Regions from separate parts of the Homo sapiens genome. Here regions 1, 3, 4 and 5 are each linked to region 2. The links are contacts of gene promoters, found by promoter capture Hi-C in blood cells and fetal thymus (Javierre and others, 2016). All regions are on one chromosome and are shown on one strand. Each heading gives the region's core, a stretch centred on a gene start or on the middle of the fragment in contact. The rest is flanking DNA. Distances are from core to core; before and after follow the strand shown. Region 1 has its middle 30 kb from the start of PAPSS1. Region 2 holds the start of CYP2U1 (cytochrome P450 family 2 subfamily U member 1). Region 3 has its middle 46 kb from the start of PAPSS1. Region 4 has its middle 11 kb from the start of PAPSS1. Region 5 has its middle 27 kb from the start of SGMS2.

Region 1 (4,511 bases), core at 1,509-4,008, 180 kb after region 2:
TTGATGTCCAAGTGAAAAAATAACTTGGTCTTATTTTTATACAAGTATGTACATAAGTATGTATTGTGTATACCTATACCCCCATACTCCTCCATGCATAGACACAAAGTAAAAATGGAATTAACATATCAAAGATTTTATCCATCTTGGGTTCTTTCTCTTTAGATAAAATATCATTTTTTTAGGATTTGATGAGAGGTAAAACATATTTGCATATGTTTTTCTGTAGTTTTTGCTTTATCTAGGTTTACTCCTGTCATGGTTAATTTTACTGTCAACTTGACCAGGCTAAGAGATGCCCACATAGCTGGTAAGACATTATTTCTCAGTGTGTCTGTGAGGAAGTTTCTGGAAGAGATTAGCATTTGAATTGGTGGACTGGGAAAAAGAAGACACACCTTCACCCATGTGGGTGGGCATTGTCTAATCCTTACAGAGCTCAGTAAAACAAAAAGATGGAGGAAGGATTAATTCACTCCCTCTCTCTCTACTTCTTCTTTTCCCCCCAGAGAAGGTCAGGTCTCCCTCTCTCTCTCAGGTTGGAAGGCAGTGGCATGATCATGGCTCACCACAGCTTCAACCTGTAGTGATCTTCCTGCCTCAGCCTCCTGAGTAGCTGGGACCATAGGCATATGCCACCACATCCAGCTAATTTTATTTTTTGTAGAGCTCGAGGTCTTGCTATATTGGTCTTGAACTCCTGGCCTCAAGCAACCCTCCCACCTTGGCCTCCCAAAGTGCTGGAATTACAGATGTGAGCCACTGTGCCTGTCCTCACTCTCTCTTCTTGAGCTAGTGGATTCATCTTGTCCTGCCTTTGGACATCAGAGCTTCCAGTTATTGGGCCTCCAGACTCAGAACTTACACTAATGGTCTATCCTGGTTTTCAGGCTTTCAAACTTGATTGGGAGTTTCACTGTCAGCTCTCCCAGTTCCCAAGCCTTTGGATTAAGGCTAAATATTTACACCAAGGGCTTTTGTAACTTTCCAGTTTGCAGAGGGCAGATTGTATACACACATTATGTCCAACAAATCACAAAGTTAACGTAAAAAAAACTAGAAGAAAGGAAAACATTGTGGAGCATCACAGAGAAACTTTCTGTTCTTCAAACCAGTGAGTCACCGTACTCATATCTATAGTTTCTTCAGGGTACTCTTTCATGTCTCAGTCAGTTTATTATTTATGCAGAAACACAACTAGAGAGCAGTTTCTTGATCTATTCAGGTATAGTACCTTTAATGAAATAATTACTTCTAAGTAAATTTAGATTGAATTATAGTGATCTGTTTCCTTTAATACAACGGTTGCTCTTAAGATTAGCATAGTAGAATCTAATTTATGATTAGAAGGTAAAGGAAAGTTAACACTAGGCACTGTATGCTAACCAATGAGGTAACATAGAGTACTACTGTTGCTTGATAGAAATAAATTCTTATAGGAACCAGAGAGATGCCAGTCTGCCTGAATTATAATACTTCCATTAAATATGTGTTATACTCCAGCATTTGTCCTGGAATTGTCAGATGAAAGACAGATCAAAAGGTCAAAACTGAAGAATTGAAGCCAACATGTTAAAAAGAAACACAAAACAAAGTAGACAACCCTATGATAGCCTCCAAACACTTGGTTGAAAGAAATAGGAAAAAAATGCCCTCTTTCTTCCAGTTTTTCCTTAAACAACATTATTAACTTTGTGCTTTATTGGACATAATGTTATTTAGTGCATCTTTTTGTATTCTCTTGAAATGTGTTACTGTAATTCCAAAATGAAAACTTAGTCTTAAATATTTAAATTCTTATTAAACAACTCTGCTTAGTCATTTGCATATACTAAAACATCTGTATGAAATAATTTGTGTAAATATCAGAAAGTCATGCCTAGTAATGTTAACCAAGAAGAATGCAGCTTTAATGTAAGGACAGAAGAACTGTGATTTAGGATCCTGTGCATCTTATGCTACTAGGCTGCTCAGCCTAGAAAAGGGTGAGTTCTAAAATGGGGAAGATTCTCACCATTATAACATAGTAATGCAACATCTGGGCTTCTGAGTGGCTTGCTTGAAATGAATGTGTGGGTTTTTTTTCAGGACTCTGCATCACAAAAACGCAGGATATTATAACCTACTCGGTATTTTGGACATCGAAGGAGAAAAGGACTAGAAGTTATGGGAAGGTTGAGCAAAAGAGAAGGAGAAAGGAAGAGGATGAGGAGGAGAAGGAGAAGAGAAGAGGAGGAAGAGGAGGAGGAGAAGGAGAAGGAGTACTGTGTTTCACTAGTGCATTTTACCTTCTGCACGGTAAATAATTAGTACCCCCAAGCTTATAAATAACAGGATGGTGTCCTCTGACTAAAATTAGGGCTAGTTTTTATGTTAGGAATTTATAATTTCCTAATTGCTATTGAGATTTCTTGCAGCATAAACAAACAGATGTGCTTTTAATTAGATTAGCCTCTTATAAACAAATGCGTGTCTCAAGTTCAATCCAATTTTTTCTTAGTTTCTTATTGTATGCAAGCATTTTAATTTGTTTACTGCAAGAAATATGTACAATTAAATTGGTTTCTCTGTGATTAAATATTTTATAACTTTTATTTGATTTTTAATTTTTACTGATAAAGAGGTACAAAAGTAAATGAATGAAAATTATTATAATAAACCATGAAATTATTTAAGTCTCTATAAATAAATGATATTTAAAGTATTTCCTCTAAAATGGGTCATTTCTGAAATAGACATATGTGTTTATAAATGTAATCTTGGTGCAATACATTGTTTATGTAGTAATTTTTCCAGAATAGTTAATATTTTTTTAACTATTGCTGCCTAATAAACTACTTCAAAACTTAGTGGCTTAAAACAACAAGCATTTTATCATCTCACACAATTTTGTGCATTGGGCATTTGGCTTGGACATACAGAGAGGGCTCATCTTGGATTTGCTTGATAGCTACTGGGACTGGGACATCCAAGAAGGCTTCTTTACTCCCATGTCTGTCACTTCATCTAGGATGGCATGAATGATGGCATCTGGCTAATGCTCAACAGGGTCATATATCTGGGACTTCGGTTCTTCCTGCAGGGTGGGTTCCTTGGTCTTTTCCAAATAGTCTGAGAACCTCTTTTTCTCCATGTGGCCTCTTCATGCAGTTTTTCCAGCAAGGTAGCCACACTTCTTAAGAGGCTGTGAAGCTTGAGTCTGGAACTGGCATACAGTCACTTCTACCGCATTCTGTTGGCTAAGTAAGTCGTCACAAGTTCAGCCTGGATTCAAAGTAGGTGAGGACTACATAGGAGTATGAATACCAGGATATGTGGTTCATCAGGGGTAGGGGGTAACTGTGGAGACTAGCTACAATACATGTGTCCTTTGACAGTGTGATTTCCTGGATCTTCAACTGTATACTTAAGTGTCTCTCAAGATGTATGTTTTGTGTAATATGAGGCTTAAGAAATGTTTTTCAGAAAAAGAGCACTCGTATTATAAATTTGAGAGATAGTACAATCTATAGCCCTTCACTTGGGCTCACTGGCATGTTAAAAGTGGTAAGAGTTTTGCAGCATAAAAATCTGTTTAATTTGTGTAACACAGCGTTCCTCAGATATTTAAGAGTATAGAACTGTGCCTGGAACTTAGTAATCATTCATAAATATTTGTGGAATGAAATTTATCAGAAGATCCTTTTTCACAAAATGCACACTGCATTCCCAATGAAGTGGTGTTTCCACTGAAGGAACTTTGGGAACACTGGTCTATTATGGAAAAGAGTAGTATGTGATTCATTTTCTTCCTGACCCATGGCTTCTATCTGGGTGTTTCCTAGTGAATTGGTTGTTGCACTTTAAATGACATGATCCCATCTCCTGGTCCCAGGTGACAAGACCCAACTGAGCACCTGACCCAAAGGCAGCCATTCGTAGCTCAGCCAGCAATGATAAGGAAGCCTAGCACAAAATCTTTCTAAAAGGGGGAAGATTCTCACCATTATCAAATAGTATTGCAACATCTGGGTTTCTGAGTGGCTTGCTTGAAATTAATGTGTGGGTTTTTGAGGACTCTACATCACAAAAACTCAGGATACTGTGACCTACTCAGTGTTTTGGAGCCCCCAAAGAGAAAAGGACTAGAGGTTATAGGAAGGCTGAGCAAAAGGGATGGAGAAAGAAAGAGGATGAGGAGGAGAAGGAGAAAACATGAGTAGCTTAAATTGGATTGTGATAGGCAGATCAAATTATATCTTCTCTTTTGAGTAGTTTGAATTTGAGAAAATCAGTCAATTAGTTGGTAGGGGTAAGACAAATAGCAGCAGAAGCTAAGAGTAACTGAGTTTCCATTATATGCAGTCCTAGGGTGCTCTGCCTATTTTCTGGTTGTGTGGCTGCTGAAAACACCTCCTTTCCCCTTTTCTTCCCTCCATCTTTAGAATAAAACTCCATTAACTGACACAACCTGTCTCAATTTCTTATTATGGGAAAGAGTCTAACTGTACGTAACATCAGGAAAAGAGTAT
Region 2 (4,371 bases), core at 1,153-3,652:
TAAACAAAATGTGGTATATACAGTCGACCCTCCACATTTATGGGTTCCACATCTGTTGGTTCCACCAACCGCAGATCAAAAAAACACATCTGTACTGAATGTGTAGACTTTTTTTCTTGTCATTCCTTAAACAATACTGTATAACAACTATTTACAAAGCATTTACATTGTAGTAGGTATTATAAATAATCTAGAGATGATTTAAAGTATCCAAGAGGATATGCATAGGCTATATGCAAATACTACACCATTTTATATCAGGGACTTGAGCATCCTAGGGTTTTGTTATTCGCAGGAGGTCCTGGAAGGAATCCCCTACAGATAAGGAGGGATGATTGTACATATGATGGAATATTAGTCTTCAAAAGAAAATTTTCACATATGCCACAACATGGATGAACACTAAGACATTATCTAAGGATTTTAAATGAGTAGGGATAAAGATCATAATACTTTAAATGCCCCACTGAAAAACAAATGTCACAGTTCACACCTCATCCACTACATGCCTTCGTAATACTGCTTCTACCTAAAATTCTCTTCTGAGCTCATGGGTGCCTGGAGAAAACCTACCTGCTTTTCTTTTCTTTTTTAAAAATTGTGGTGAAATACATATAAAATTTACCATCTTAACCATTTTTAAGTGCACACCTTAATGGCATTAGGTACTGTCACACTGTTGTGCAACCATTGCTACCATCCATCCATAGAACTTTTTTCATCTTGCAAAACTGAGACTTTCTGTCCCTATGAATTTCACTACGCTAGGAGGCACCTCATATAAGTGGATCATACAATATTTGTCTTTTCCGTTTAAAATCCTGATGCAAAACTCTGGCTTTATCAGATTCTGAAAAGCCTAGATCTTTCTTTGCCATGTTATAGGGGCAGGAAATAGCATTCATTTAATAGATACTTGAACTCCTACTATGTTTCAGACAGCAATGACTCTGTCCTCCTAGATGTCAGAACAGTGGTGAAGACTGACATCCAGGCCCAAGGTCATAAAGTTATGTAGCGTCAGTTTTGAAAAGTGTAGTGAAGGAAAAGTGCTTGGGCAAGGGACCTGGTTCTAACAAGGGAGGCTACCCTACTTGCAGAGGCTGTGAGAAAAGGCTTCCCCAAGGAAAAGGCATTTAACACCTGACTGATGCGTAGGAGTGACTCAGAAAAGAAGTCAGAGACCTAAGCCAGCCAGTAAGACAAAGGGGGACGGTAGAGACAGGTTAGATTGGACATTTTATTGCAGCAGATAACACGTTTTCCAACCCCCAAAAATGTCCAATTTAGACTCCCATACGCAGGAATCAGAGGCTATGAACCAAAGCCGGAGATTTGGTAATAGGCTTCTTCTGTGTTTTCTGGACTTTTTATCTTATTGGAAATTATCTTCTTAAATTCTTACATTCGAAACCCACAAGGTAAAAAGAATATCCTTCCCTCTTTCTAACATGGGGGCCAAAGTTTCTCTCCGAGGTCACAGCTGGTGGAAGGGAAGGCTACTTTTGGAAAGATGGAACCTGGCTTGCCACCTTGTCCTTCCGCCATCCCTATTACTCTCCCTCAATCTCCGGATGACTTTTCTACTTATGATCTTGGAGTATGAGCAAGTCACGCGTCCGTCACTACTTGATGGGATCTTAAAGGCATCAGAAAGGAGAAGCGCCGCCACCACCATCACCTGTTAGTTCAGGATGCAGGTGTGAGGCAGCCTGGGGGCGCGGGCGGCCGGAAGGGGCACAGGAACTGCAGCCCCCACGCACCTGGAGACTCATCCGCGGCATCCGCGTACCCACAGCCCACGACCTCCCGCTCACCCTTCTCCTTGGTCACGATGGAGATGAGCGGCACCCGCGGGCGGTCGCTGAAGACCTCGGCCTGCTGCACCAGCGCCTCGCGCACGCTGTGGAAGTCGCTGAGGACCACCACCAGGTAGTGGCCGATAAAGAAGCTGAAGATGCTGCCGTACACGCGGGCTAGGTGAGCCAGGAGCACCTGCGGGCCTATGACCGAGGGATCAATCCCTGCGGCCCTGGTCCTGCTGCTCAGCCAGCTCCGCCGCCGGAGGAAGGGAGGCAGCAGCACGTGACCGAAGTTGCCCACCAGAGGCCAGGGCGTGGGCCCGGGCGGGATGCCCCGCGCCCGGCGCCTCCGCAGCCAGCTCCAGCCCAGCAGCGCTACGAGGCCGCATAGCAGCAGCGCGCCCCCGCTGGGGTCCAGCCGCAGCAGCCCCAGAGGCGCACGCAGGAGGCGCGCGGGCCAGGGCGGGTCCTCGGCCGGCGGCTGCGACGGCCCCGGAGACGACATGGTCCGGGCGCCGGCGGCCTCGGGTTCCCCTTGCTGCCTGGAGGAGACGCGCACGCAGCTGCCTGACCCGCGGCGCCAGTGTCCTGCTCTGCTCTGGAAGGTCGGGGGCGGGCAGGGGGTGTAGGAACGCCCCCGGATTGGCTGCGCCGCGCGCATTCTCCCCGCCGCCGCCACTCAGCGACGCCTGGGCGGAACCTGGAGGCGCGCCGGCTGCCTGGCGGAGGGGGTTGGCGGGCTAGCAGGCGGGGGACCTGAAGTTTGCCCCGAAGTCCGGTTACGACCCTTTGCAGGGTCGGGCTTGGCGGTGACTGTCCCTGAAACTGGGATGCTGGCAACACAACCTTGCGCTCTGATTGGCTGTTGGTTTCCCTTGTGTCATTCGTTTGTCATTATCACTCGTTTGTCAGTTGACAAACACAAACGCATGGTTATGAAGTGCATAAACCGTGTTAGGATCTGTACTGAGTGTGGGAAACTGGTGAACAGGCCCGTGAGATGGGTCGGCCTTAGCACCTGTGCCCTGAGCTGGGAGAATGGGGTCAACGCCCTATTCCTGCATGCTTCGGTGTAGTAGTGAAAAGACGGGGTTCCTTATCTAAACTGGGATTCGCAGCACCCTTTCCTCCACGCAGAGACAGCAGGATGCTGGGAAGCCGTGGAATGCAGAATCTGTGGGTGTCGGCTTGGCAGCCAACTCTGCGGAAGGGATGATGGCGGGAGTGGGGGGAGCGAGGGGCGGGCAGCGAGGCACGAGGAGTCACGTTCTGAGAGCTTGCCCTGGGCTAGAAAACTTATGCGGAGAGCGAAAGCTGTGTCCATTCCTGCGTGTGGCCTGGGTGCATTAGAAAATGTACTTAAATCCAGAAATAGCGAAACCAGAATTTGCTTGGTGGATTTAAGTAGCTAGAAATATGAAAAGAAGATAACCGGTTGAGGGAGGGGTGGCAATATTATTATTGGTGTTAGACAACACTTGAAAGGCTGAGGTTGAAATATTAGATATGAATTGTATAATACTTTAAAAACAAAGTATTACTTTATTTTATCTTCTCAGATAATGGCTTTCCTGATAAGGGCTTCCCTTTCAGTCTTGTTTAGGCCAAATCCTGTAGTTTCTGTTCAAGTTGGATTGAGCATAGAATTGTCTGTACTGGGCCATTTTTCTAGCCGTTTCATTTTTCTCCATACATTAAAAGTTTGAACACCACGCTGTACCTATAAAAATGTGATCAAAGAAAGCATAGTGAGTCCTCAAATAAATACATGATCCATTTTATTTTTCTATAAACAAGTGATGCCAGTAGGATATGTTAAATTTCAAGTCCACTCTGTTCTCATATTCTTTTTGACATGCTTTTCATGTTATTTTAAGCTTATGCACCCCAAACAAAAAAAAAAAACCTCCACACCTCTCATCTTCTATAATTAACCACTACTTGTGAGATTACTTTTCTCATTTTTTTTGAATTTTTGAATTAAGAGAAGTTTTTAAAAATTTAAACTACTTGTTTGCAGATACGATCTTCAACATGACATTCTGGATGTCATCTGATTCTAGGGCTTTGCTCTCTGAAACAGTAGCCACTATATACATCATCCCATACAAGCAATTTAAATTCATAAATGATTTTAAAATAGTTGAAGCTGTGACTAATTTAACAACTCCAACAGCCACCCTTTTATATTGTACAGGATGTAACTGCACGTGTAGTGTTTTCCTAAATCTCTCATTTTCACTAGGTTAATAGCTGTGCGGGGCAGATAGGAAATCTGGGCTGAATTCAGCCTCTCCTCACCACTATATGTTGAAGTCCTAACCCCCAGTGCCTCAGAATAAGACTGTATTTGGAGAAAGGGCCTTTAAAGAGGTAATTAAGCTAAAATGGAGTCCTGTGGATGGGCTCTTACCAATATGACTGGTGTCTGAAGAGGAGATAAGGACACAGAGAGGAAAGAGGATGTGAGGACACAGTCAGAAGGCAGCCATCTACAAGTCAGGAGAGAGGTCTCAGAAGAAATCAACCCTGCTGACACCTTGAGTTTTGACTTCTAGTCTCCAGAACG
Region 3 (4,674 bases), core at 474-2,973, 170 kb after region 2:
TTAACCTGGTCCATATTTTTCTAAACTAAAATTCAGCTAAAAGTATTAATAATCAGAAATTTGATTATGCACTTTTGCACTCTAATTTCTATAAGCTAAAAGAGTTGGAAAAAGAAAGTCTGAAGTTGACAATTCTAGATGATTTTGAGTATTCATAGAGACTTCTGCCTATTTGTGAAACCCTTAAGGACTCTGAGAAGGGCAAAACTGAGAAGGCCCAAAGTTTTTGATTGATCTTGTTCAGTCCCAGAAAACATTATTTGATTGACCTGGTTCAGTCTCTCCCTTGGAGTGATAACATATCAAAATAGAAAGCTGACTTTCATTTGCCTAATTAAAATACTGGTAATCCAGAACGCGTTCAACTCCAGAGAAAATTGGGCTCTCTTCATTTCCCTTTAAATAAGGAGGACTGATGGGACTGGCGAGTCTCCTGTTTGATCAGGAGCAATTTTAAAAAGCTACTAGGGTGGACCATCTTTGAAGATGTAATTACCTCATAAGTTCTATTTAGATTGTCTGTATTTATCTATGTTTTTCAAAAATAATCAAAGTAATATATGCTTGTGGTAATTCAAATAATGCTGAAAAATACAAAATAAAAGTTTCTCTCCTGCCCAGCCTAATCTTACTTCCTAAGGATAACCATTATCAAGAGTTTATTATATATTTTTCTAGATGTATTTTTATGTCTGTACAAACATCTGTGTATATATTTATTATAAATACACACATATAGTATTTTTCCCACAAAAAATGAGCTCTATTAATTTACCAAAGACTTATATTTCCATTCCCATCCCATCATTCATCAATTTGTCATGGATTATTCTCCAAGGCAGCCCAAACAGATCTAACTCATGTTTTAAATGACCATATACTGTGTTATGTAGTAAATCAAAATTTATTTGGTAATTACCCTATTGTTGGTAATTTAGATCATTGCCAATTTCTCCTATTTGATAATTCAGCAAAGAGCGACATGACATATATAATTTACACACTTCTATAATTGCTTCTCAAGGATAGATTCTAGAAGTAAATTCGCCAGGTCAGGGAATTTAAGTATTCCCAGTGCATAAAAGTGCCTATTTGCCCGAACCTACTAAAACAAGTAAAAAGAAATTTAAATGACTAATAATAGAGACACAAATGAAATAATTATGGTGCTATAATAGATTAGTTATATGATATTAATAGATACATTATTGCATAAATACTAAAATATTAAGCTTAAAGGAAGTTTTAAATGTGAAAATGTTTATAACATACAGGGTAAATAGTAGAATGCTTTGTATATAAAATTATGTGTGTATAATTTCTACTACTAGTTCCTACTACTAGTTATGTGTGTATAATTTCTACTACTAGTTTCATTGCTGAAACTAGTAGTGTGACATAATTATGTTTCCTTTCCTTTCCCCTGGAGCCAATAATTTTGTCAATTATTCATTCACTTGTCTTCTAAATGCGATTTCACATATTCCAATGCTTGTCAGATAATCTGAGTGCCATTTTGAATTTATTTCCAGAAATCTTTACTCTCCTGCTCCAATCTTGACTGGTTGCCTTGTAGTTCCATTTTATGCTTCGTTACTCTGGCACTTTCTTTTGATATTTTCCTGGGAAATCTCCTCAGCTGTCTTCTCTGTGGAAGCCCATGTTTCCAGAATCCTAGCTTCTTCTTTACTGATTTTCTCCCTATTTGAGAATTTACATGCCTGAAAATGGCTTTGAATCTGTAGCATATTCTCAGGGGTCATTCAGTTTCTGTCTTGAAAGTTTCTCAAAGTCTTGTCCCTGGGATGTGTGTGTGTCTGGCTGCGAGTATTTGGGGACAGGGAATGAGGGCTGGCAGGGATTGGGGGTGTGTTTCTCTGGTAAATATATAGATTCCACCTAATCCACCTATTTTCAGTCCCATATCTCCTCTTGAATCTTTCTGTTCCCATTGTCTGTAAGCCTAAATTCTTTGTGATTCATGTTCTGTAAGGAATAAATCTCAAGTCTGAGAATTTGGAAGGGGATGTTGAGGCTTTTCAGGGTCTAACCACCTCTTACACAGAATTTCCAATGATTCTCTTAATTCCAGACCTGGGCTTTGTACTCCCTTTCTGCAAAACCCAATTCTTGAGCCTTTGCAGCTTGGTTCTGTTTCCTCCTTCTAAAGAAACAGGTTCAGCTTCCTCTATTCCCCTGAGTAATCAAGCTTTCCATCCTCCAAAATACACTGATGTTTCCTGACCCCCTGTGTCTTCTCTCCTGTAATTTTGATTCTTTTAGGCCTATATATTTTAAATATTATTATTGTCATATTAATAGGCATTCAGGAGAGAATAGAAGTGATACATCTATTCAATTCACCAGGTCAAACCAGAAATCTCCATTTCTATTTAAATAATCCTGTGGCATTATCTTTTTCTTTTCTTTTTCTTTCTATTAAGAAATTTTTTTCAAAGATAATTTTGGCAGAAATATAAGTAATGAATTAAGACATTATCTTTTATTTCAAAACATAGTGATTAAAATAAGAGTAGCATTTTGATTCTTTGAGCTATTTTGAACATGGGATTTTTAGTTGGTCACAGATGACTTTTTATTGTTCCCCTGAATATCCCTTTCTTCCACTATGCCTCTTCATAATCAGTTTGTTACATCAGTTCAAATGCAACATTGCTATGTCTCTGTGAGTATCATCTCTTCCTAAATCCTTCAATTTCTCCAAAATTACATTTCTCAGGAAATTCACTTTAGTTGTCATAACTTCTCCATATCGTTCTATTTGTGTAGAACACAGTGACTGTAGCAAAGCTGTCAGAGTAAAAACAAGACAATAGTTAGCTTACTAGTTCTTGTACCTGTAACTCCCAGAATTTTATAGTGAATTTCTTTTAAAATCCTCCACTTGAATATCTGCCTTCATCTCTGACGTTGTCTGCATTTAGTACAGGAAGCAAGGAAAGGAGAAAGGATAGATAATATTGTGTTAATTAATATGTTCATGTTGGGCTGGGTACATTGGCTCACGCCTATAATCCCAACATTTTGGAAGATCAGGGCCAAAGGATTGCTTGAGGCCAGGCGTTTGAGACCAGCCTGGGCAATGTAACAAGACTCTGTCTTTACAAAAAATAAAAATAAAAAATTAGCTGGGCATAATGACCCATACCTGTAGCCTAGCTACTTGGGAGGCTGAGGTGAGAGGATTGCTTGAAACCAGGAGTTGAAGGTTACAGTGAGCTATGATTGCGCCACTCAACCCCAGACTGGGTGACATAGTGAGACCTTGTCTCTAAAGAAAAGTACCATATTGATATAAAAATAAGATAATGATAAATAGTTGATGTAAAATATAAATAATTAATATTCACAAAATTAAACACAGAAACAAGTAACCAAAAGAATTTCCCACATACCAACAACTAGTATAGTATAGTACTTTGGCAATATTTCTATTATTTTAGAGAGATAGATTGTCTCTATATACTGTTTACATAGAAAAAGTTTCAAGTTTTGGATACCAAACAATTGATGTTATTTAATTTTTTCACTGAATTGACTCTTAGTGATGTATAAACATCATTAAATTTGCTCTACTTTTCATACTTTTTGAGTTCAGTTTCATGCATGGTGGGCTTAAGTTAGCTGTGTGTATATGCTCATTCCTATAAAAGAGTTGACACTGAAAAATTAAAATTTCACTCAATCATTGACTTATAACAGTTCTTTTATTATATACCTTATAGTGAAGCTGTCCTTGAACAAACTGGCTGCTCAATATATATTTAATTGAGTTTTTAAAATTTGTTTAGGGATGTTGGTACATAAAAACTGGCAAACTATACGGGAAGTTGTACAAGCTAGTTGTACATATATCATGTAAGAATGATTTTTTGTATAATGACTTCTTTTTCTCTGGGTAGACACACAGTAGTGAGATTCCTGGATCAAATGGTAATTCTACTTTTAGTTTTTTTTAAGGAATCTCCACACTGCAATTGCAAAAATATGGAACCAGCCCAAACACCCATCAATTAATGATTGGATAAGGAAATTGTGGTGTATATGTATATACCATGGAATACTACTCAGCCATAAAAAGGAATGAATTAATGGCATTTACAACAACCTGGATGGAACTGGAGACTATCATTCTAAGTGAAGTAACTCAGGAATGGAAAACAAACCTCGTATGTTCTCACTCATAAGTGAGAGCTAAGCTACCAGGATACAAAGGCATAAGAATGATACGATGGACTTTGGGGATTTGGGGGAAAGTGTGGGAGAGAGGTGAGGGATAAAAGACTACAAATTAGGTTCAGTGTATACTGCTCAGGTGATGGGTGCACTGAAATCCCACAAATCACCACTGAAGAACTTACTCATGTAACCAAATACCACCTGTTTTCCAGAAACCTATGGAAATACAAAATTTAAAAAGAATTTTTTTATTTCATGTATAAATTAGAAATGAATTCACGTATTCTGTACTGGAAAACTGTTATTCTGTTAGGCATTCTTCCATGCACAGTCTCTAGTTAACCTACTAAATTATCAGCTCACTTTATATCTTTGACTTCCCCTAAATAGTGTCTCCTTTCCCAACATTTCAGATAAGAGAAAGCTTGCTGCCCAGGCAGAATCCCCTGAGCAGCTGCACTTGCCTCATTCTCT
Region 4 (4,391 bases), core at 1,723-4,222, 200 kb after region 2:
AGCCCAGATAAGGAAATAATATATGGTCTGGTTTTCCTCACTCTTTGAGCACATCTGCTTCTGCCAAACTTCCGTTCTTTCCCAGGTGATGAAAAGGATGTGTGGTTTTGTCCAAGGGACAGCCCTCAGTAGAGTCCCCAGGACAATCTTACCCAGCAGCTGCTGGGAGTTTCCTCACGACTGTCTCATTGCAAACTGCCAGCATCAAAGGCAGCCACCATCCTGGCGGCCTCCTGGCTGGCTCGACAAAATTTTTGTTCCTGGAACCAAGCTGGATCTGGCTGTGTTTTCTCGAGGCCCAATAATGAGAAGCAGACAAACTTGGAAAGAAGGGAATTTATTGCTGTAACTGGATACAGAGAGAAGGCTGGAGATAATTCCACCAGACCAATTCAAAGTGTTACAACTTTCTTGGTGCTTATATAGGTTGGAGTTATGTGCCTACATGCAGTATAGCATTTGCCTAAGTCTATTGGTAACTAATTTTGTTTCAACTAGAAGGTCAGAGGCAAAAGTCTGATTAAAAGGGCCCCAGTACCTTCAAGGCCTGCCTACTGTGGTACCAGAGTGATTATTTCTATCTTATGTCCTTTACAGCTTGTCTGGAGAGCTGCCTTAGACTCTCCAATGAATCTGTTCAAACAGCTGCCTCTGTTACCTTGACTTGTCTCAGATATGGGTCCTGGCACTGGGAATGTAAGACTGTCTCTATTATTTTGGTTTGCTCCAGGTTAGGGAGAAGACCATGGAAGGCTCCTACTGACCATATGTTTCACTTCTATCTCTGATGTCTGGGCACTGATTTCCCTAGGCTTAACTATTTGCTCAATGTTAAGGCAGCTCTGTGGAAATTAGTCTGTGTAACTGAAGTGCTATGCAGGCTTGTCTGTGTGATTGTCAGGGAGAATTGGCCTGCCACAGAACATATCCTCCAGTATTTCCTTGAGAAAGCGTATATAGCAATTCCAATTTCTAACTGAAAATACTTTCAGAGCTCTGAAGGTATTGGTCCATTTGTCTTCTAACTTGCAGTCTTTTTCTTGACAACTTCTAATTCATTTTTATTCCTGACTCTTTGTTCATGAACTCTTCTTCTCTTTAGAGGCTTGCAGGGTTTCCAAACAATTTCGAACTATTGTATAACAGTATTCTGAAACTTCATGGTGCTATGCTTTATGCTTTTTCCGTGCTTGATTTTATCTGTTGAGTTAGGCATTCAGGGAGGCATTTCAGTTCTAGGAAATTTCATTAAATAATTGCCATGGTTATTTCCTTCTGTGCGTTTTCTCTGTTTTTTTTTTTTTTCTTCGTAGAACTTCTAATACTTGGATGTTAGATTTCCTGGACTGTTCTTTTCTTTCTTTTCTAAAAAATTATGCTGTATTTCCCATCTCTTGGGATTTTTGCTCTGCATTCTGAAAGATGTATCAACCATTTTCCCCCATTCCTGCTACCATATTCAGGAAACCAATTTTGGTTCCTGAATATTTATGGCTTTGCCATTTCACTGATAAATCTTTCAGCATATATCTCACTAATATGTTTTGGCTCTGTGTCCCTACCCAAATCTCATCTTGAATTGTAATCTTGACGTGGAGGGAAGGAGGTGATTGGATCATGGTAGTAGTTTTCCCCATGCTGTTCTCATGATAGCGAGTGAGTTCTGACAAGATCTGGTGGTTTTATAAGTGGCAGTTTTTCCTGTTGTTTGCTCTTCTACCTCCATGTAAGATGTGCTTGCTTCCCCTTCCATCATGATTGTAACTTTCCTGAGGCCTCCCCAGCCATGTGAAACTGTGAGTCAATTAAACCTCTTTCCTTTATAAATTACCCAGTCTTGGGTATTTCTTTCTAGCAGTGGGAAAATGGACTAATATACTCTTAACTGACTTATTTAAAAAATATAATAACACTGCTATTTATCACACCAAAAAAGTAAGTCTTTTATATCGAGTTCAGAAACTCTTCAAATTTCCCATATAGTCTCATAAATTTTTAAAAAATTTCTTTTGTTTGGATCAGTGTTCAAATATGTTTCAAATATTTTAATTGCTCCATTTTTATTTTATATCTTATTTTATTCTTTAGTTTTTCCTCATTTATTTTTTCCTATCTTTGAATTACTGAAAACTCAGGTCATTAATGTTGTAGTTTTCCAGAGTTTGGGTTTGACTAATTGCATTTGTGGTGTTTTCACCTCTTCCTCTTTCCTCTGCATTAACTGCAAACCTATAAATTGTCCTGAAGACTTGATTAGAACCAGATTTGATTTGACTTTTTCATGATTTTCATCAGGAGGCAAAAAGTTATGGTGTTCTTTATTTTCATGATATTTGCAGCCATTGAGGATGTGACGGTTAATACTGAGAGTCAATGTGATTGCATTGAAGGATGCAATATTGATCATGGGTGTGTCTATAAGGTTGTTGCCCAAGGAGATTAACATTTGAGTCAGTAGGCTGGGGGGAAGGCAGATCTACCCTTAATCGAGTGGGCACCATCTAGTCAGCTGCCAGTGAATATAAAGCAGGCAGAAAAACGTGAAGAGGCAAGATGGGCCTAGCCTCCCAGCCTACATCTTTCTCCCATGCTGGATGCTTCCTGGTCTTGAATATCAGACTCCAAGTTGTTCAGTTTTGGGACTCAGACTGGCTCTCCTTGTTCCTCAGCTTGCAGACAGCTGAGGACCTTGTGATTGTGGGACCTTGTGATTGTGTAAGTTAATACTTAATAACTCATTTATATATATATCTATATATCTATGAGTTTAAGTAAAAAAAAATATGTATATATATCTCCTATTAATTCTGTCCCTCTAAGAGAACCCTGACTAATACAGATTTTGGTACCAGGAGTGGTTCTAGAGGAATAGAATATTAAGGATGGAGTTCTTTCATTGGTTTTGGGGTTTCTGGAGTTGTCTTCTTAATATGATTAGACCAAAAAATGCTAAGGACTCTACTTCTAATAATATGGAGAACACCGATAGTCCTTGGCAGAAACTGTTTAGAGAGTTACGCCAAATAAATACATTTGACACTCCTGATTCACCGCTCGTGAGAGGCAAGGAGTTTAGTGACTATACAGAATACCCTTGACCATATGTGGAGAACCAAGGAGCATAATGAAGCTAGTTGGTTGCTCCTAAGTCCAGTGGACAAAGTGATAAAACAAAATGATACACTCAGGGATTTTGTCTCCCAGCTTCAGAAGAAGATACTGAGCCTCAAGTCTGCTAAGATTGCCCTAAGTGAGATTCTTATCTCCTGCAGAGAAACTGCTATAATTGTGGAAAAACAGACACAAACTCTTATCATGCGAGTGGCTGACCTGCAATGAAAGATGCATGCAGAGCTTCGCCAGGTGCCTACTGTTAAAGTGAGGGCATTGATTGGAAAAGAATGGAACCCTGCAACTTGGAATGGGGATGTGTGTTGGGGCGGGTGGGGGGGGGGGCCTGATGAAGCTGGGACACTGAGTTTGTAAACTCTGATTAACCTTTTTTGCCAGAAGAAACAGCTTCCCCATCTCCAGTAGTGGCAACATCCCCTCCCTGACCCATGCTGCCATCAGCCTTTTCACCTTTGTCTGAGGAGATAAATCCTGCACTGCCTGAGGCAACAGCGATGGCTTCCCCTGAGGCAGTTGCCAGTCAAGATAATGATGGTTTTTCTCAGAAGCCACCCCCAACACCTCTGTTTGCCTCTAGATCTGTAAATAGACTGAAGTCCCAGCGGACCCCTAGAGGTGAGGTTGAAAGTGTGACCGATGGGGAGGTGCGCTACACTGGAAAATAACTGTTTGAGTTCTCTAATTTATTTATTTATTTTTATTTATTTATTTTTTGAGATGGAGTCTCACTTCTCAGGCTGGAGTACAGTGGTGCCATCTCGGCTCACGGCAAGCTCTGCCTCCCGGGTTCACGCCATTCTCCTGCCTCAGCCTCCCAAGTAGCTGGGACTACAGGTGCCTGCCACCATGCCCGGCTAATTTTTTTGTATTTTTTAGTAGAGATGGGGTTTCACCATATTAGCCAGGATGGTGTGAGGAAAAGAAAGAGAGATCAGACTGTTACTGTGTCTATGTAGAAAAACGAAGACATAAGAAACTCCATTCTGATCTGTACAAAGAAAAATTGTTCTGCTTTGAGATGCTGTTAACCTGTAACTTTAGCCCCAACACTGTGCTCACAGAAACATGTGCTGTATTGAGTCAAAGTTTAAGGGATTTAGGGCTGTGCAGGATGTGCCTTGTTAACAATATGTTTGCAGGCAGTATGCTTGGTAAAAGTCATTGCCGTTCTCCATTCTCTATTAACCAGGGACACAATGCACTGTGGAAAGCCACAGGAACCTCTGCCCAAGAAAGCCTGGGTATTGTCCAAGGTTTCC
Region 5 (4,400 bases), core at 743-3,242, 130 kb after region 2:
AGAATCACAACGTCCCACTAGGAAAATGCCGGTGCAAAGGTGAAAGAAAAAAGTCAATTCCATTTGCAGCGTCGCTGAAAGTGAGAACCGAATTTGATTGGGGAAGTGAAATGATTATCTCTGCCCCTCTTGAGGAGCAAAGGAAAAAATGAGCTCAAAAAAGCTTTTCTGTTGACATCATTGTCCAGTCCTCCTGTGACTGTAATTATTAATATAAGCAGGCATAGAGTAGTTCTTGGGGTGACGCTTCTACTGAGAGTATTGTGGGTAGGGATGTATTTTATTGCACTCAAGTGCCTATAACCATAACAATATGTTATAAGCATATAATGTTTACTTTCTGAACATTGGTGAAGCAACCATCCTGCTATAGAACAACCAAAACTGTAAAAGATTTCAAGACAAAAATCTCCTTAGGAAAATGACTTAGCTGGCCTGCAGATCATTATCTAATGATTTTTAAAGATTATATTTTAAATTACTTGGCATCCTGTGCTTCTCCTTTTCCCCACCACATTTAAGAGGATGATAGATCTATCTAGTTTAATGTAATATAACCCATTATATAAAGTACTGAAGTTGAATACTGAATAGGCAGGACTAGTGCAAATATATATACCACTGCTCTACAGTGGGAATTCATTTTGGAGGCAGGTTCTGGTAAGTAACAAAACATATACGCTGAAAAGGGTTGGGAAGAACCTTCCTCTCTGATGTTTCCCATGATACTGTCAGTCATACCGAAATGTTGACAGGGGCGTAAAGGCACCTCATCTTTTAGTTGTGCATGTGATTACATCAGCCTAGAAAGGGGAGCTCAGATAACTTCCGGGACTGGACATTTACTGGACAGTAAAATGGGAGAGATGGTGAGTCCCAAGAGTATATACATGAAATTAAACCTACACGTACACATACACATACGTATACACACACACACCAGCCACATCGTGTTGTCCAAACAAGGATCTGCTGGTCACATCCTTCCTAAAGGCTACCAATTTATGATCTTTTCTTAGCTGTAGGAAAATTTCTCTGTCCAAACTGTGGGATCAAAACAGATCTCAAGAGTCAGCAGGATGTCTGACTCCATCCTGGAACAGAGAGATTTTGTCCTAAGGTAGTTAATCCAAAATGATTGCCTGAAGTCCCACTCATCCTTCAAGGCCTGCTCAAGTCCAACTCCTCTTTGAAATCATCCCATCTTCCTGTGAGGCTGTGCCTTACCTTCCGCAGGTAGGTAGGCTGTGTTCTGGTGTTACAGTCATTCCAGTGTCTTCTATTTCTGTGGCTGGGACATGTGTCCGCTTCAGCGTGTGGATCTCAATGCCCGGCCTTCCCTCTAAGCCCTATTAAACGCTTTGTAAAATTTAAACTAAGGGATTTCTGAGCATTTTGATTGGCTTATAGAAATTATAAAAGATTCTAGAACTATATCCAAATGAAAGAGTACCTCCCACTCAAAATATTCTCTCAGACCCAAATTGGTGTTCTTCAGAACACTAGTCCCAAGAAGTGCTCCCTGAAAAGTGCTCTGTGGTCAAACGCTGTGCTCCATATCCTGATTAACAGTCACAAGACATGTTGGCATTGTAAGGACTCTGAGAAGATTAGAAGAGATTAAAGAAAACACTTCTTTTCACCCAGGGTTCTCTTGATAAATTTGACCACAGAATCCCTTTCCTTTTATTATTATTTTTTAATTGGAGAAAAGGCATACAAACTTATTAACATGTACATAGGGAGGACCACAGTGATTACCCTTAGACTCCCATTTAATAGAACCATTTGATGACTTATTCCTTGGAATGTAGCCCTTGGGGAGGCAGCACCCCTTAGTGGGCAAGGATGTAGACTCTGGCCCCAGGCTGCCTGCAGTTCAGTCCTCAGCATTCATTGTCCTTGGGAAAGGTATGTGACCTCTTCATGCCTAAACTCTCTTACCTATAAAATGGGCATAATAATAGGACATATTCTTGTAGGCTTATTATGAAGATTACATGCATTAATACGTGTAAAGTATGTGCCTCAGCCTAGATTTGGGGTTTAGGCTAGAAAATCAGGACTCTCTCCCCACTCCAAATTCAGGAACGACTGAGACTTAAGATACACATCAAATGATTCGCTTTGCTACCAATGAAATCTGTTGAGAAAAGGGGACCCCCTTCCTGGCCATACCCACTTCACATCTATTCAATTCAACACTTTTAGTCACTGAACAGGATGAACATGCAGGTTTCTTTGTAGGGGAAGGCAGTCTACGGCAGGGTGAGTGGAGAAAGTGTTTTGTGTACCAGTTGGCTAGAGCTCAGAACAGAAATATATGGTCTCACAGCGCTGGAGACTACAAGTCTGAAATTAAGATGTCAGTGGGGACCATGCTCCCTCTGAAGCCTACGGGGGAAGAATCCTTCCTTGCCTCTTCCAGCTTCTGGTAGCCCCACACATGCCTTGGCTTGTGGTGGCATTAACTCTAATCTCTGCCTTCATTGTCACATGGTATTCTGCCTGCCTCTTGACTTTACCTTCCCTCTTCTTGCGTCTGTCTCTGTCCAGATTTCCTCATTTTATAAGGAAACCCATCATATTGAATTAGGGACCACACTAATAACCTCATTTTAACATGATTACCTCATTAAAGACCCTATTTCCAAATAAGGTCACATTCTAAGGCATTGGGGGGTTGGGAATTTAACATCTGTTTCGTAGGGGAACACAATTCAGCCTATAGCATTCTGAGATCAGGCCCTCTAAAAGAGAGAGAAAAGTGACCAAAGACCAATGCTATTTCTTCTTTCCTATGTCACCAATCAGAGATATCATTCCCCCTTTCTTGGGAAGGAGATGGGGAGGGGTCAGGAGAGTCCAGAAGTGTTTCTAGTCCTTTCCTCCAAGGGCTGGAGTTTAGAAATTTCTCTCTTTCCCTATGAAAAATGAAGAGGTAGGGACAGAATTCCTCACCCCCATCCCCAAAACATAACCCAAAGATAGCTTTGGGATTAAATAGGTATTTGGAACTGCCTGTGGCCATACCTTAAAATTTGTCAGTTGGAGTCCCTTCTTCTATCCTGGGGCTCAACAGTATACCTGTTTGTACTGAAAAAACTCGTTTCCTAGACACTGGGAGACTTGAATACTCTTTCATGTTGCACTAGTGGCCACCTCGAATTGGCTATGTTTTTGGGACCTATGTCCTTCCAAGCCTGATTTTGTTGTTGTTGTTGCCAACACACTCATTGGTCTTGGAAACAGCTTTTAACAGCTAATGCGCAACAACAATTTTTATTTATATTTTTAGCAAAAACTCCGGAGAGTGAAATTAATATTCAATAATGAGAAAAAAATGGAGTTACACATGGGGCAAAGATCATTTTAAATAGCAATGGATAGAACAAGCCTGATAGCTTCATTTGGGGAGAGGAGCTAACAACTGGTAAGTGTTCACCAAGTGCTTGTATTAACTCATTTAGTCCTTGAGTTCTCACACCCTGTGAGGCTTAGATACTGGGCTGTGGGGTTGGGGCATCTGTCTCCAGAGTTTGCATTCTTAACCGCTGAGCTACACAGCCTCCATTGTATAAATTAGAGCAGATTTCGCTTACCTCTTTACTGTCAGAGTAGTTTGTATACGTTCTTCCACAGCACTTAATAAATTCGAAATAATCCCCCTTCCTTTGACCTCTTCTTACTCCTTAGATTGTAAGTCCCTCCAGGACAGGAACCTGTCTATGCTCATCTTTATTGGCTAGTTTGCTGTCTCTCACTTTGTAGGTAAGTTTTTAGTTAAATGAATGAATACTATTCTTGCCAAAGAAGCTTTTGAAGAGTTTTCTGTTCTACACAGTTATCACAGTCTTTCTTCTTATTTATTTATTTTGCTGTTTTATAATCTGCCAGAATTATCATAGTCTTGAAAGTAACATGATTCATGTATGGTGATTGCTTCAAACCCAGAAACAAAAATGTCCAGGCTAATGATCTATATGCAGACAGGTGACATTATGCTGATCATTCTTCTTCACTAACTAGAACTCTCCACACAGTTTTGATGGACAAAGCCCGATTTCTCCCTAGATCTCTAAGTGGAAGCATCCAGAGGGTGGTGCTTGGTGCTGAGTGCCTGAACATCTTCAGGGAACCTCCTGAGAAGTCACTTAAATAGGCTTTTCCTAGGCTCAGGGGGACAGGATGACTCTTTGGGCCATTGTTAGTAAATAATTGCAAATTGATTCCATGCCCTGCTCAAATGTGGAGTTCACATACATAGTGAATTTCAGGACACAAGAATGACACTTTTGTTACATTCTACTTCCTATAAGCCACCAGATTTCTGGGTCACCTGTGGCTCAGGACTGATCTAATAAATTCACAGAAGAAAATGCAAGTATTAGATAAATCTG

The links. The method cuts DNA at HindIII sites, captures the fragments that hold promoters and counts their contacts. A CHiCAGO score of 5 or more calls a contact.
Region 1: a fragment that was not itself captured here is called in contact with the fragment with the promoter of CYP2U1 in region 2 in 2 of 17 cell types (monocytes and M0 macrophages); the score reaches 6.7 in monocytes.
Region 3: a contact is called between a fragment that was not itself captured here and the fragment with the promoter of CYP2U1 in region 2, in 4 of 17 cell types (M1 macrophages, monocytes, M2 macrophages and 1 more). The highest score is 5.9, in M1 macrophages.
Region 4: a fragment that was not itself captured here is called in contact with the fragment with the promoter of CYP2U1 in region 2 in 1 of 17 cell types (monocytes); the score reaches 7.0 in monocytes.
Region 5: a fragment that was not itself captured here is called in contact with the fragment with the promoter of CYP2U1 in region 2 in 1 of 17 cell types (monocytes); the score reaches 6.4 in monocytes.

The regions. Positions count from the first base shown.
Region 1 is chr4:107,748,394-107,752,904 of GRCh38, reverse strand. No RefSeq gene overlaps it. Among named protein-coding and RNA genes, the nearest start is that of PAPSS1, 30 kb to the right of the region's middle. The HindIII fragment of the contact is 872 bases long and covers 2,323-3,194 here.
Region 2 is chr4:107,929,580-107,933,950 of GRCh38, reverse strand. CYP2U1 (cytochrome P450 family 2 subfamily U member 1) reads right to left here and starts at 2,402. Exons shown (of 5, transcript NM_183075.3): 1 at 1,818-2,402. The coding sequence starts at 2,307. CYP2U1-AS1 (CYP2U1 and SGMS2 antisense RNA 1) reads left to right here and starts at 1,832. Exons shown (of 7, transcript NR_125929.1): 1 at 1,832-1,980. All of the region lies in intron 1 of LOC107986298 (a long non-coding RNA gene), which reads left to right. It overlaps LOC124900751 (a long non-coding RNA gene), which reads left to right and starts at 2,366. Exons shown (of 2, transcript XR_007058221.1): 1 at 2,366-2,978; 2 at 4,048-4,371. RefSeq lists enhancers at 1,665-1,734, 1,795-1,864, 2,525-3,032 and a silencer at 2,075-2,664. The HindIII fragment of the contact is 6,450 bases long and covers 1-3,681 here.
Region 3 is chr4:107,763,590-107,768,263 of GRCh38, reverse strand. No RefSeq gene overlaps it. Among named protein-coding and RNA genes, the nearest start is that of PAPSS1, 46 kb to the right of the region's middle. The HindIII fragment of the contact is 977 bases long and covers 1,235-2,211 here.
Region 4 is chr4:107,729,355-107,733,745 of GRCh38, reverse strand. No RefSeq gene overlaps it. Among named protein-coding and RNA genes, the nearest start is that of PAPSS1, 11 kb to the right of the region's middle. The HindIII fragment of the contact is 8,704 bases long and covers 1-4,391 here.
Region 5 is chr4:107,795,673-107,800,072 of GRCh38, reverse strand. No RefSeq gene overlaps it. Among named protein-coding and RNA genes, the nearest start is that of SGMS2, 27 kb to the left of the region's middle. The HindIII fragment of the contact is 3,653 bases long and covers 166-3,818 here.